Regions from separate parts of the Homo sapiens genome. Here regions 2, 3, 4 and 5 are each linked to region 1. The links are contacts of gene promoters, found by promoter capture Hi-C in blood cells and fetal thymus (Javierre and others, 2016). All regions are on one chromosome and are shown on one strand. Each heading gives the region's core, a stretch centred on a gene start or on the middle of the fragment in contact. The rest is flanking DNA. Distances are from core to core; before and after follow the strand shown. Region 1 holds the start of ARHGAP31-AS1 (ARHGAP31 antisense RNA 1). Region 2 holds the start of NR1I2 (nuclear receptor subfamily 1 group I member 2). Region 3 overlaps IGSF11 (immunoglobulin superfamily member 11). Region 4 has its middle 7.3 kb from the start of COX17. Region 5 overlaps POPDC2 (popeye domain cAMP effector 2).

What was found. Contacts are between HindIII fragments. The CHiCAGO score rates a contact against its expected background, and 5 or more counts as called.
Region 2: a contact is called between the fragment with the promoter of NR1I2 here and the fragment with the promoter of ARHGAP31-AS1 in region 1, in 2 of 17 cell types (erythroblasts and neutrophils). The highest score is 12.7, in erythroblasts.
Region 3: a contact is called between a fragment that was not itself captured here and the fragment with the promoter of ARHGAP31-AS1 in region 1, in 2 of 17 cell types (naive CD4 T cells and activated CD4 T cells). The highest score is 6.3, in naive CD4 T cells.
Region 4: a fragment that was not itself captured here is called in contact with the fragment with the promoter of ARHGAP31-AS1 in region 1 in 14 of 17 cell types (megakaryocytes, M0 macrophages, total B cells and 11 more); the score reaches 11.8 in megakaryocytes.
Region 5: a contact is called between a fragment that was not itself captured here and the fragment with the promoter of ARHGAP31-AS1 in region 1, in 1 of 17 cell types (erythroblasts). The highest score is 5.5, in erythroblasts.

What each region holds. Positions count from the first base shown.
Region 1 is chr3:119,321,414-119,324,057 of GRCh38, forward strand. It overlaps ARHGAP31-AS1 (ARHGAP31 antisense RNA 1), which reads right to left and starts at 1,347. Exons shown (of 2, transcript NR_046748.1): 1 at 1,201-1,347. The region is part of intron 1 of ARHGAP31 (Rho GTPase activating protein 31); the gene reads left to right. RefSeq lists enhancers at 1,018-1,875, 1,876-2,644 and silencers at 1,295-1,654, 1,705-2,054. The HindIII fragment of the contact is 4,466 bases long and covers 1-2,644 here.
Region 2 is chr3:119,780,804-119,783,447 of GRCh38, forward strand. It overlaps NR1I2 (nuclear receptor subfamily 1 group I member 2), which reads left to right and starts at 1,298. Exons shown (of 9, transcript NM_003889.4): 1 at 1,298-1,497. The HindIII fragment of the contact is 6,406 bases long and covers 1-2,498 here.
Region 3 is chr3:118,949,605-118,952,248 of GRCh38, forward strand. The region is part of intron 1 of IGSF11 (immunoglobulin superfamily member 11); the gene reads right to left. Among named protein-coding and RNA genes, the nearest start is that of IGSF11-AS1, 7.9 kb to the left of the region's middle. The HindIII fragment of the contact is 1,233 bases long and covers 693-1,925 here.
Region 4 is chr3:119,683,365-119,686,008 of GRCh38, forward strand. No RefSeq gene overlaps it. Among named protein-coding and RNA genes, the nearest start is that of COX17, 7.3 kb to the left of the region's middle. The HindIII fragment of the contact is 1,303 bases long and covers 648-1,950 here.
Region 5 is chr3:119,654,907-119,657,550 of GRCh38, forward strand. All of the region lies in intron 1 of POPDC2 (popeye domain cAMP effector 2), which reads right to left. Among named protein-coding and RNA genes, the nearest start is that of POPDC2, 4.4 kb to the right of the region's middle. The HindIII fragment of the contact is 2,702 bases long and covers 1-2,644 here.

The DNA of each region.
Region 1 (2,644 bases), core at 97-2,596:
TACATAAATGTTTTAGAAAGAAAAAAATACTTGTATGTAATTCTATCACCCAAAGATGTAACATTTTGGTGGATTTCCTTCAAGTGTTTTTTTTCTATGTACATTTTCATATTGTGATTACACTGTGTGTGTGTATATATATATTATATATATATATGATTTTGTGTCTTGCTTTCTTATAACCGAAGTCTTTATTCAAGTTATAAAACCCTACATATAACATTTTAAGGCTCCGTAGGTTTTGTTTTGTTTTGAGACGGAGACTCGCTCTGTTGCCCAGGCCAGAGTGCAGTGTCACGATCTCAGCTCATTGAAGCCTCTACCTCTCGGGCTCAAGTGATTTTCCTGCTTCAGCCTCCCAAGTAGCTGGAACTATAGGCCCACACCACCACGCCCAGCTAACTTGTTTTTGTATTTTTAGTGGAGACGGGGTTTCGCCATGTTGGCCAGGCTGGTCTTGAACTTCTGACCTCGGGTGATCTGCCCGCCTCAGCCTCCCAAAGTGCTGGGATTACAGGCGTGAGCCACCACGCCCGGCCCATAGTAGTTTATCATATAAATATGCCAGTTTATTCCCTGCCTCCATTACTGGACATTTATAGTTATGATTGTTTTAATTTTATGAACAAGCCCACAGTGAATATTGTGAGGCATATGGCTCTTTTGTTATGTAATATTTCTTTGGAATAAACTCCCAGAAGTAAAATTGCTGGATTAAAAGGTGTGTTATTAGTCAGAACTCTCTTGGTTGTGACTGAAGGAACTCTGACATAAGAAAAAAAGTGGGGGTTAATTACTGATTCATAGAAGCAAACTTTGGCAAAGACAAGAAGGGAGCTGGCTTTAGGGAGCTGGGACCAGAGGCTGGAATTTTAACCTCCTGACTTTCTCCTTGTCTCTTGAATTTATCTTAGACATAAATGAAAATAGAGGTAACTCAAAGCGTCTAACCCACAGTGACAATTGCTGCTCTGTTTTTAGAGCCGGGATTTTGTTCGTGGACTTGCCTTGCCTGGTGGTTGAACTTTGCAGCCCCTTCCTCCTCCGGGCAGCTTCTCTCAGTGGCAGCTGTGTTCCCCATGGTTTGTCCTGGATGTCTCCCTTGTGCCATCCTTGCAAGCCCGCGGCCAGCGCCTCCACCCACGCTCCGGCCTTGCTCCCACTCCCACCGCTCTGCCACCTCCCACCTCAGCCTCCCACCTTGGTGTGGAGGGACCAGCGTCGAAGACAAAGGAATCTCTGACGAGAACCGGCCAGTCCGGGAGGGACGGCGGGGAAGGGGGTGCTGCTCTGGCGGAGCCCTCACTTCACTCGCTTCCCCTCGAGCGCCCCTCTAGGCTGGGGCCCGGCCGCTCTGGGCCTGCTCCTCCTCCCGCTCCTGTTGCGGGGCACCAGGTCAGACCCTACAGGGGGCTCCGCCAGGGGGAGGGGGAGAGGGGCTCCCTTCAAACTCGGCCCGGCCGCGGGGGTCCCGGGTGCCCTCTGCTGGGCTCCTTCCACGTCCTTGTCCCTCCTGAACTCCCGTTCCAGCCCTGCCCCCGCCCCGCAGTAGGGAACGGACTCGTTTCTGCCCCGCCCCGGGGTCCGGGCGCCCGCCCGGCGCTTCAGCTTCAGCAACGTCAAGGCCACGTTCCCTCCGCTCCAGCTCGAAAGACGGTGGCGCTGACTCTGCTCTGCGCGCCGCAGCTTCCTCCCGCTGCTCCGCCCAGCGGTTTCTGATCCCCTTTCGGCGCTGGGGACTCACACGCTGCGGCGACAGGAAAGCCCGCGCCCCCGGCCGCTTCCCGGAACGCCCTCGGGGACGGCTGAGTCACTTGGCGCCCGCCCGCGCGGCCACCGAGCCCAGAAGCGGGGAAAGCCCAGAAGCGGGGAAACCCCAGGGACAGCCGCCGGCCCTGGGGGCAGCCAGCGCTCCAGGCCGCCCAGCACCTCGGGCCCGGATGGGCTTCTCGCGCCCCAGGGCTGCGGCCACACCCCGCCGGCCCAGACCCCGCGGGTAGAGAAAGGAGGTGCAACCCTGAGAGCCAAGACGTTGGGCTTGGCTTTGCTTTGCGTTTCTTTCCTTTTTTCTTTTGTTTCTTTTCTTCTTCTTTTTTTTTTAACCACATCCAGGAAGAGGAGAAACCTGTCTCATGACAGGAAACGAAGAGGGAGGATGCATCCGAACTGAGGGACATTGTTTCAGTTGCCTCACCTGACATACTGTCTCACCTGAGAGAGGGAGGCCGAAGAGGCAGCCAATGGTGGCTGGAGCAAGCCCTGTCCTCGTTACCTGGGCTGTGGCTGAGCCCTGGGGCTCACCGGCTGTATGGCCCTGGGCAAGTCCTCGGAGCCTTAGGTTCTCTGCAAAATGGAGATGATGTTTAATAGAAAATGTTTCTATAACTTTTGTGGCTTACTTTTTGAAAAGCGAGGGAGGGACTTTTGTCCTTCCCTCCTCGCATCTCAGTCGCAGTGCTGGTTCACAATCAGGCTGTTAACGCGGTTTCCACATTTCCTGTCCTCCCCCTTCCCCTTTCCTGCTGGGAATAAGAAGGTGGGCCCCCAAGGAGACAGAGGGTACACTCGTAAATGAAAAAGAAAAGTCAGCACAAGGACCCTTTGCTGCGGAGATTTCTTTTTCCAGGTATCCTAAGTGGGGCTC
Region 2 (2,644 bases), core at 48-2,547, 460 kb after region 1:
TGACTGGAAAAAGGACAGAGCTCTATGGCTGTGGGTCCCAGTCCCCACTGCTGGCAGTAAGTCCCCAGCAGTGAGCTGTGTAAGCACCTTACATTCTGCGCTTGGTTGAAAACAGCAAGGCAAGCATCCACTTGAGAAATGTCAACCCCTAGGAAATCCCAGCCTCAAGTCTTTCTCATCCCTTGGGAAGTGCAAATTGGATAGAGAAGAAACCAATTAAAAACAAAACAAACAAATCATACTTAGATATTCTGGCTTTTCTCACCAGGGCTGGATTAAAGCATGTACTTCAAAATAATAACAACTTAAGTCAATAAATAAATGTAAGGAAGTCCAAATGTTCACCTGAAGACAACTGTGGTCATTTTTTGGCAATCCCAGGTTCTCTTTTCTACCTGTTTGCTCAATCGTGGTCTCCCTCTCCCTCTCTTGTTGGGGCCCATGCCCCTGCTTTACTGTTGCCAGAGGCTTGTACTTGTTTGCCTTTTAGGTAGGAGCAGTTACTTCCACTCCCCTCACCTGCCATAAAGCATCTTTATAAACAAAGCAAGTAGAAGAAACACATCCTGGTATCCACCACATTCGGCTTTTGTTGATTCTGTTCACTTGGGAGCACCTGCTGCTAGGGAATAAGAAGGTTGAGGCTGAAGAGTGAGGACTCTTCAGCTCCCCTCTGGCAGGACCCGGGAGAGGAAAGAGCCCTCAGCTGGTCCATCCTCCCCACTCCTGGTCAGCCTTCTGTTCTGAGATCAAAGTGGTGGGGTCACATTCTCGAGAACTGTGCTCAGCCCCCTCATCTCACACCCTTTCCCTCTCCCTGTGTGCCTGCCCCCCTCTTACATAACCATGCTGGTGATTGGCACCGTCATAAATCAATACTTTGCTCACTTTCACATCAAGTAACACTATCCAGGGAGGTGGTTTCAACAAAGGAGGAAGTATAAGGAGATCTAGGTTCAAATTAATGTTGCCCCTAGTGGTAAAGGACAGAGACCCTCAGACTGATGAAATGCACTCAGAATTACTTAGACAAAGCGGATATTTGCCACTCTCTTCCCCTTTTCCTGTGTTTTTGTAGTGAAGAGACCTGAAAGAAAAAAGTAGGGAGAACATAATGAGAACAAATACGGTAATCTCTTCATTTGCTAGTTCAAGTGCTGGACTTGGGACTTAGGAGGGGCAATGGAGCCGCTTAGTGCCTACATCTGACTTGGACTGAAATATAGGTGAGAGACAAGATTGTCTCATATCCGGGGAAATCATAACCTATGACTAGGACGGGAAGAGGAAGCACTGCCTTTACTTCAGTGGGAATCTCGGCCTCAGCCTGCAAGCCAAGTGTTCACAGTGAGAAAAGCAAGAGAATAAGCTAATACTCCTGTCCTGAACAAGGCAGCGGCTCCTTGGTAAAGCTACTCCTTGATCGATCCTTTGCACCGGATTGTTCAAAGTGGACCCCAGGGGAGAAGTCGGAGCAAAGAACTTACCACCAAGCAGGTATGGTTTTTCTTTCTTTCTCTTTTGCTGGGGGCTGACCGCCCTTCAGCTCCAGCCAAAAGATGTGTGTGAACACAAATATACCTTCTGTTTGAGGTCAGCATCATAGTGGGTCGTGAATCATGTTGGCCTTGCTGCTGTCTCCTCATTTCTAGGGTGGAAAAAAAAAAGCATGAAAACAATCACTTAATGTTGAGCCCCATTACTGATGCTCTCTGGTCCTGCACTAGCCTCCTAGAAAAATCACCACAGGAGAAGCCTTAACTACTGCATGAGTTACCACAAGTCACACATACAACCAGCTCCCTGTTACAGGGCTGGAGTCCCTGGACCCAGGAAATACCACCTCCAAGGACTGTGGGAGCTGGGGACTATGGGAACTGGGATCAACTCAGTCCTGATTCCTTTTGGCCTGCTGGGTTAGTGCTGGCAGCCCCCTGAGGCCAAGGACAGCAGCATGACAGTCACCAGGACTCACCACTTCAAGGAGGGGTCCCTCAGAGCACCTGCCATACCCCTGCACAGTGCTGCGGCTGAGTTGGCTTCAAACCAGTGAGTTTTCTACCTCTACTATTGAAAGGGCACCTTGTCCCACAGAACCGAGTCTTGCCTGCATGTGGTCAGTGCCACCAGGTCCTTCTTCTCTCCACTTTACAGCCCAGCTCGGCTGAAGCTATGGCCAGAGGCACTGCTTTAAGGCCACTCCATATCTAGGACAGGTCAACAGACACCTCTGAGGCCACTGAGTCTTGACTCAATGAATCAGCTATAGCAGGCACTATTCCTCTCCCACATGGCCTCTAATGATATGGTCAGAGTTGAAAGGATGCTAAGGGAGGCCTCAGAGGCTTATTTAATCAGTTGGTTAATGGGAAAAAGTATTTTGTGGTACACAAATACGCTTTAAAAATATTTTAGTTATGTCATAAAAGTCTAAACCTGGGGTTGACAAACTATGGCTCACAGGCTAACTCTGGCCCACCAGCTGTTTTTATAAATGAAGCTTTATTGGAACACAGCCATGCCCATTCGTTATGTATTGTATATGGCTGTTTTTGCCCTACAACATCCTTTCAACTCTGGCCATATCATTAGAGGCCATGTGGGAGAGGAATAGTGCCTGCTATAGCTGATTCATTGAGTCAGC
Region 3 (2,644 bases), core at 59-2,558, 370 kb before region 1:
TAAGCAGTTTCACTTTTGCATGTATTATTCTCAACATTCTTGCAAATTAGGTGGGCATTGCTGCTGTTACCTTCATTTTACACACAAAATAAGGAACGGAGTAATAAAGTAATCCAAAGCTTGCATAAAGTAATCCAAAAAATTTATCAAAGCCAAGACTAAAATTCAAGTCTCATGATGTTCACTTTCTTTCTACTGTAACACACAGCCCCAGGAGAAAGGATTAAGCAAACAGCTGTTCCAGGTAGATCAAAAAGCCTCTGCATACCTTCCCTTAGGGAAAAGTGATGAATTTACTCTAATGGGAGGGTAATGTTTGAAATTAATTTACCAATGAAAATTGGCCTTAGTCCTCAAGCCCAAGGCCTAGAATAAATTAGGTTCTGCTGGAGAGGGGAAGGAACAATTACCAATGCAAACCCTCAATAAAGAGGGAAAATATAAAGAATTATCCCTAATATTTATTGAGTCAGGAATGGAAGTATAAATTTTTACTTCCCATTAACCATATAATACTTGATGCTACCACTCTTTCTAAAGAAACCACAGCACATACACACTCACTCTATACTTTCTCTGTTTAAGGAGTAACATGCAGGCTCCATCATGAATGGCAAAAGAGAAACAATCCTATCCACTAACCTGAATAGCCCTAAGGGATCTGATCCGTTATATCACCTCCTCCCAGCTCAAGCTTTCTCCGGTTAAGTTCTAACAGAGTAAAAATTCTTCAAATCACCATTAAGGTTAAAATTTTGTTATTTCCTATCATAAACAATAAAGCATTATTCTAGTGATAGCAAATGTTGATTGCCACGACGAGATACAACAGTATTATGACACAGTAAAAAATTCCTAAGGTAATATGCCTTTTATATATTTTATAGAGAATATTCAAGGTTAAGGTTTCTCACTGATGTATTTCTCCTAGTGGGTGAAAAAAATACACACACGCAAACATATATATACCCCAACTCAATTTTCCCCATCTTGCCTGGAAAGCTATTAATAATGTATCTATATAATAGATACATTATAATAATACATTATAATAATGTATAAATGATTCCATTTATATCAAGTTAATAATAGGCAAAACTAAAAGTATGGTGTTAGAAGTCAAGACAGAAGGTCATGTGGGAAAATGAATTACTCTGTTCCCCTATGGAATTTTCTCCTCAACCTGGACAATCAACTAATGCCAGAGGCCTACAGTCACCAAACCAAGAGCTTTGATGGGGTTGGGGGAACCTCAAAAACAAACTTGTAAGCTGCTGCTTGGGAGCAGATTAACAGCTAAGTAGCATAAGACCAGTCTTACAGTACTGTGTATTACAGGTCTGCTGGCTCTGGCTTGGTGATTTCTCACCAAGGAATGGGTAAGTTGGTAGACAGTAATGAATGAATATATTTACAAGCCATTAGGTCAGCTCTATCCAATAGAACTTTCTGTAATGATGAAAATGTCCTGTATCTGCACCACCCAACATAGTAGCAGCCACATGTGGCTATTCAGCATCTGAATTGTACCTAATGTGACTGAGGAACTGAATTTTAATTTAGATGTCCACATGGGGCTAATGGCTAGCATGACAGATAGCACAGCTTTAAATACTCAGTCTTTTTATAGAACTAAGCTATGCTTGATGCATGTATACCTTATATCAGGGACTGCAACTGGTGATTCATAGACCAAAGCTGGCTGACAAATGAGTATGGTTTGGTGATCATAGTATTTTGGCTTTTAATCTAAATTGAAACTTATAGACAGGGTACTCCCCAGTTGGCCACTGTATCTTAACATTTTCTAATTCTCCATCACACAGATACAACTACACACACACATAAGCATTTGATTTTTCTATCCTACAAAATGTGGTAATATTATTTTTCAGATTCTTTTTCACAAAACATCACTTCAAGAAAGCTTCAAGTGATATTTCTTTTAAAAATAATAATAGACTAATAATAATATCTATCCCTTTATTGGTTATTTACTATGTGTTAGGAACCATTCTAAGTTCTTCACCCATATTAGTTCAACCCATCAGTATCGACTGGGATTGGTTCCAGGACACCCCCCAGACACCAAAATCCCCAAATGCTTAAGTCTCTTATATAAGATGGTACAGCATTTGCATGTAACCTACAAATATTCTCTCAAATACCTTAAATCATCTCTAGATTACATACAATACCTAACACAACGTAAATGCTATGTAAATATAGTATTGTTTCTATTTGTATGTTTTATCATTGTGTTTTTTTAAAATTTTTTCCCAAAATATTTTCAATCTGTGGTTGGTTGAATCCATGGCTGCATAACCCACAAATATGGAGGACTGACTGTATACATACAGACATACCTCAGAGATATTAGAGATTTGCTTCCAGACCACCAAAATAAGGTAAAAATCTCAATAAAGCAAGTCATACATATTTTTTGGTTTCCCAGTGCATATAAGTTGTATTTACACTATACTGTAGTCTATTAAGTATGCAGTAGCATTATATAAAAACAGTACATATCTTAAAGTAAAAAACACTTCATGGCTAAAAATGCTAACGATCATCTGAGCCTTCAGTGAGTCATCATCTTTTTGCTAATAGAAGGTCTTGCCTCAATGTTGATGGCTGCTGAATG
Region 4 (2,644 bases), core at 49-2,548, 360 kb after region 1:
TTGATTAGGGTCTTACAAGACTTGAATCAAGCTTTCAGCTGAGACTGTGGTCTCATCTGTGGTTCTACTGGGGAAGAATATGCTTCCAATCTTATGTTGTTGACAGAATTCAGTTTCTTGCTATTGTAGGACTAAAGGCTTTGGTTTCTTGCTGGCTATCAGTTGGAGGCTACCCTCAGCTCCTAGAGGCCTCCTGTAGTTCCTTGCCAAATAGGGTTCCCAACATGGTCACTTACTTCCTCAAAGCCAGCAAGGGATAGAGAGCCACCCAGAAATATGGGCATTACAGTCTTATGTAAGAGAACCATGTAATTACATCTATCATATCATATTTGGCATATTCTATTGGCTAAAATACTTGAAAAGAGGGGATCACATGAGAACATGAACACCAGGAGGTCAGGATCCAGGGGCCACCTTAAGAATCTGTCTACCACAGGTCGATTATCTAAAGTGAAAAATTGATTATACAAATGGAGTCATTCCTGTTATACCCAACTAAAATTTAGAGTTAGAGGACCATAGGGGTGAAAAAACACTCAGGTCTCAAAAGCCTGCTCCAGAAACTGTCCCACAAGCCCAATCCAATGAAACAGCTGCTACAATTTTAAGACTAGTTTGACAACAAATGGCTGCCATGACTTCAAAGCTTGTTTTACCTAGTAACTTTTGCCACCCAGCAATCAGAGCTTGCCAGCTCCTGCAAAATGCCACAAGCACCAATAACCTTTCTCTTTTCCCAATGAAACCTCAACCATTTCCTTTTTTTTTTTTGAATATATTGGAGACCACTTCAGTTTGTATGTTTGTCCCAGATTGCAATCCTATTTCTTTGTTTATTTCAAAATAAACTCTTTTTGCTTGGAGATTAGTCTCTATCTGTTATTGACATTACATGGTGTCAGAAGTGAGATGCAAAGCAGATTCACTTGGAAAGATAATGGCCCCTGGAACTATGGTGTGCAGTACTCACTGTCAGACCCCTTGAGCCCCCTACTTCCGCTGGTGATCTTTTTTCACCCCAGTGAGTCTTTCTTGGGTTAAACACCCCTTTTTTTTTTTTTTTTTTTTTTGGATTTGAGTTCTTCAGCTTTATTTGGGATTTCTTTATGAAGGGCCTTTCCTCTCCTATTTATTAGGCCTCTATTTGTAAGGGATTTGAAGAAGGCTTTGTCATTCTTCCCGGTGAGTATGTACTTTACTCTTTGGTTCATTTTGTGTGCTTGATTTTTATTTTGGCTTTTGTGTGTTTGGCTTTGCACTGACTCACTTGGATATGTTTATTTACAAATGAACTCCCCAAATTCAAAGATATACCAAAATAGCCCCCCAACATTGGGGACTCTAGCTTGTTATATGCTTAATTATTATGGTCCATCTTCCTATTCTTTTTTTATCGCAATGGACCAATTACACTAAAGAAAATTTGGAATTACAATGGCCATCTCTTGAACTCCCTAACTTGTTTTCTTAGAACTAAATTAGAAGGCCATGGCTACAAAATTAAATTGCCTGAAAGGAGCATAAACTTTAAGTGGTATCTTGAAGCATCTAAATGTATTCAAGCCTCAAAAATCACCTAACTCCAAAATACCATCACTAAGTTAACTAAGACAGATAAACAACGAAAGGAAGATTTTAAAAGGCCTTAGAAACTCAGAGTTTTTCTGCTCCCCTGGTACCACCACCTCTCTCTCCTCTCTACCCTTCCCTTTCTGAAAACCCCACTCAATCCTGATACTTCCTCCCCTACTACCCTCCCAGCTTCTGATCCCCATCCTCAACCTATAAAAACTTGTCCCTGTAGGGTTAGACCCACTAACAATCCTGAGGTTCCTTAGATTGTCTATGCCCTTGGAATAAGGCTGAAATCCATGTTAAAGCCAAGGAATTTCCTAAAGTTACCCAGGACCCTCTTTGCTTTGCTGATGAATTTAACATTACAATTGAAGCTTACTAGCCCAGCTTCTCTGATCTTAATCAACTTGTCCACATGCTTGTGGGAGAAAGCCAGGCTAATCACTGGATGAAAAAGGTCAGTTGTGGCTGGGTATGGTGGCTCACGCCTGTAATCCCCACAATTTGGGAGGCTGAGGTGGGCAGATTACCTGAGGTCAGGAGATCGAGACCAGCCTGGCCAACAGGGCGAAACTCCGTCTCTACTAAAAATACAAAAATTAGCCAGGCCTGGTGGCACACATCTATAATCTCAGCTACTCAGGAAGCTGAGGGAGAGTCATTTGAACCCAGGAGGCGGAGGTTGCAGTGAGCCGAGGTCACTCCATTGCACTCCAGCCTGGGTGATAAAGTGAGACCCTGCCTTAAAAAAAAAAAAAAAAAAAGGAAAGAAAGAAGAAAAAGGTCAATTGCACACACCCTGTATTAGTCTGTTTTCATGCTGCTGATAAAGACATACCCAAGAAGGGGCAATTTACAAAAGAAAGAGGTTTAATTGGCCTTTGGCCTTACAGTTCCACATGGCTGGGGAAGCCTCACAATCATGGTGGAAGGCAAGGAGGAGCAAGACCCATCTTACATGGATGGCAGCAGGCAAAGAGAATGAGGAAGATGCAAAAGTGGAAACCCCTGATAAAACCATCAGATCTTGTGAGACTTATTCTCTACCACAAGAACAGTATGGGGG
Region 5 (2,644 bases), core at 84-2,583, 330 kb after region 1:
CCTAGGCTTGGGCCTTATCCCAGAGCAATTAAACAAGAATCTCTCTAGGTAGGAACTGGATATTATTAGTATTTACATCTCCCCAGTGATTCTAATGTGTAGCCAAGATAGAAACTACTGCTTAAGAACTCTGCTGCTGGCCCGGCGCAGTGGCTCACACCTGTAATCCCAGCACTTTGGGAGGCTGAGGCAGGTGGATCACCTAAGGTCAGGAGTTCGAGACCAGCCTGGCCAAGAGAGTGAAACCCCCATCTCTACTAAAAATACAAAAATTAGCCAGGTATGGTGGCGGGTGCCTGTAATCCCAGCTACTTGGGAGGCTGAGGCAAGAGAATCACTTGAACTCGGGGGTGGAGGTTGCAGTGAGCCGAGATCACACCACTGCACTCCAGCCTGGGCAAAAGAGCAAGATTCTGTCTCAAAAAAAGAGAAAAGAATGCTGCTGCCTATTTAAGTTTACATTTACATTAATTAAAATTAAATAAAATTAAAAATTCAGTTCCTTACCTAATTACAATATGGGTGTTCAATAGCCACATATGGCCTGTGACTACCATGTTGTACAACATAGATCTAGAACGTTTCTGTCATCACAGAAAGTTCTGTTGGATCCGCTGCTCCACAGATTCTCCTTTCTCCCTTCCCATTAGCTACATGAAGATTCATGCTTACATTTAACCACTTTGTAGACTTTGAAGGAAGTGGCAAGTCTACCATATGCCAGACTCTGCTAGACACTTTACCAGTGTTCTCTTATATAATGTTCACAACACCACAAGGTAGATTATTCTTTTCTGTATTTTATAGCTAAGGAAACTGGTGCTCAGAAGGGTTGAGTGGCGAGCTTAAGGCTACATAGCGATCAAGTGGCGGAACTAAAATTCTATGTTCTTAGCACAACACCATGTTGCCACCCTATTACTACAGCTTTGGGTAGATGGTAGTGGACTCTCCTAGCATGACCCTTTCCCGGACCTCTCTAACCGTAGGTGACAATAACAGCTTGTTTCTTTAGACAATGAGATCCCATGCACCCTATCCAGCTGATGGTCCTAGAGTGAACACCTGACTCAAGCTGAGCCAATCAAACTCCTTCCCTGGGAATTTGGAAATGGAATTGCGTGTAAATCATGCCTTGGATGGGGACAATTATCAGGCATTATTAACAAAACTAACACACTCCTCCCTGAAGGAACTAAAAAAAATTTTTTTTTATCACGTAACTCAGACTTTGAAAAGCATGGGTCCCAATTGGCTATAGAGAAAATAAACTTGAAATCACATAAAATGTCCTAGTAGGACATGTTCTTGTTTCTAGCACTACCTGAGGCTTAGGTGCATGTCTTTCCTTGAGTTTCATAAGAAATCCTTGTATTTTTTTAAATAAAGACCTTTTTTCCCCCTTCTGTTGGCTAGAGTGGGTTACTGTGGCTGCAGCCAGAAATCCGAATTATTTGCTTTAATTTTATGAATATTCTTAAGTCTTAAGTCTTAAGTCATTAACTGCTCTTGACTTGCCCATGACCACAGGCTTGGTTTCACAACTTAAGGGGTTAGGAGCCTTACTATTGCTGCTTGGTGCCTTTGTACCCTTGTGGCTGTACCTAGCCTAGTGCTCTGCCCCTGCAGGGTAAAAAGACTGCATTCCATGAGAACTTGTTAGAACTGATGGCATGTCATTGATGATGCCTGAGGACAGGGAGTGTATTTCAGATGTGAGGCCACATCTGGAAGAAGATTAGAATCCAGTATGGGCTTTATCCTTCCCCCAACCCGACCCCTGCCCAGAAAACTCAGAGTTTCATCTTTAACCTCTCTTCTAAAGTGAGTTATATCAGGCAATAGGGGTGCCTCTATTAGGCAAAGGGGGAAGATGAAAAAGATCTCTAAGGTACACCTTGTTCATTTGGGGGAGATATCCTTCCATTATTTCTGGAGGTTTATTGGCTAAACAAATATTTCTGGAGCATCTCTCATGTTTCTGGAGATCTGGGAATGCAGAGATGGGCACAATCTGGTCTTTGTCTTTGAGGATTTCACAATTTAGTGGAAGTCACAGGCACATAAATAACTGGCTGCAAGTCAATGTGATAGGTGCTATTGTGGAACAGTAACAGAGGAGAGAGAAAGATTGGTTCTCTTTGGGCAGCAGACCTCTCGAAGGAGATGACATTTGAGCTGAATTTTGAGGGATGCAAAGGGTATTGAGAAGCAGATAAAGATGAGAATGAACAAAGACCTGGGAAATCCAGTGTGGCAGTCTGTTCTCCAGTATCTGCTTTCTTCTCTTCCTTAATGGTGCTAGATTTTAACTGGACACATGACTGCAGAGAAAAAAATCAACATTTCTCTACTTCCCTGGCTGCTAGGCATAGGCAAGTGATAAGTCCTGGCCAATGGGATATCAGCACTCCTGAGCCTTGCTCTTAATGAATGCCTAGGTATACATGCGTGTATACAAATTACCAAAGACCAGCACCAATTAAAAAAACAATTGCACCTATTATCTGACAACCTAAAGCTGGAAGACAGGAGCTTTATTCAAGACTCTGAATAAATATGTATGGAAGGGGGAAAAGAAGGAAAGAAGGAAGCAAGAAAGTAAGGATGAATAAATGAACAAAGGAAACCAAGGAACAAACTC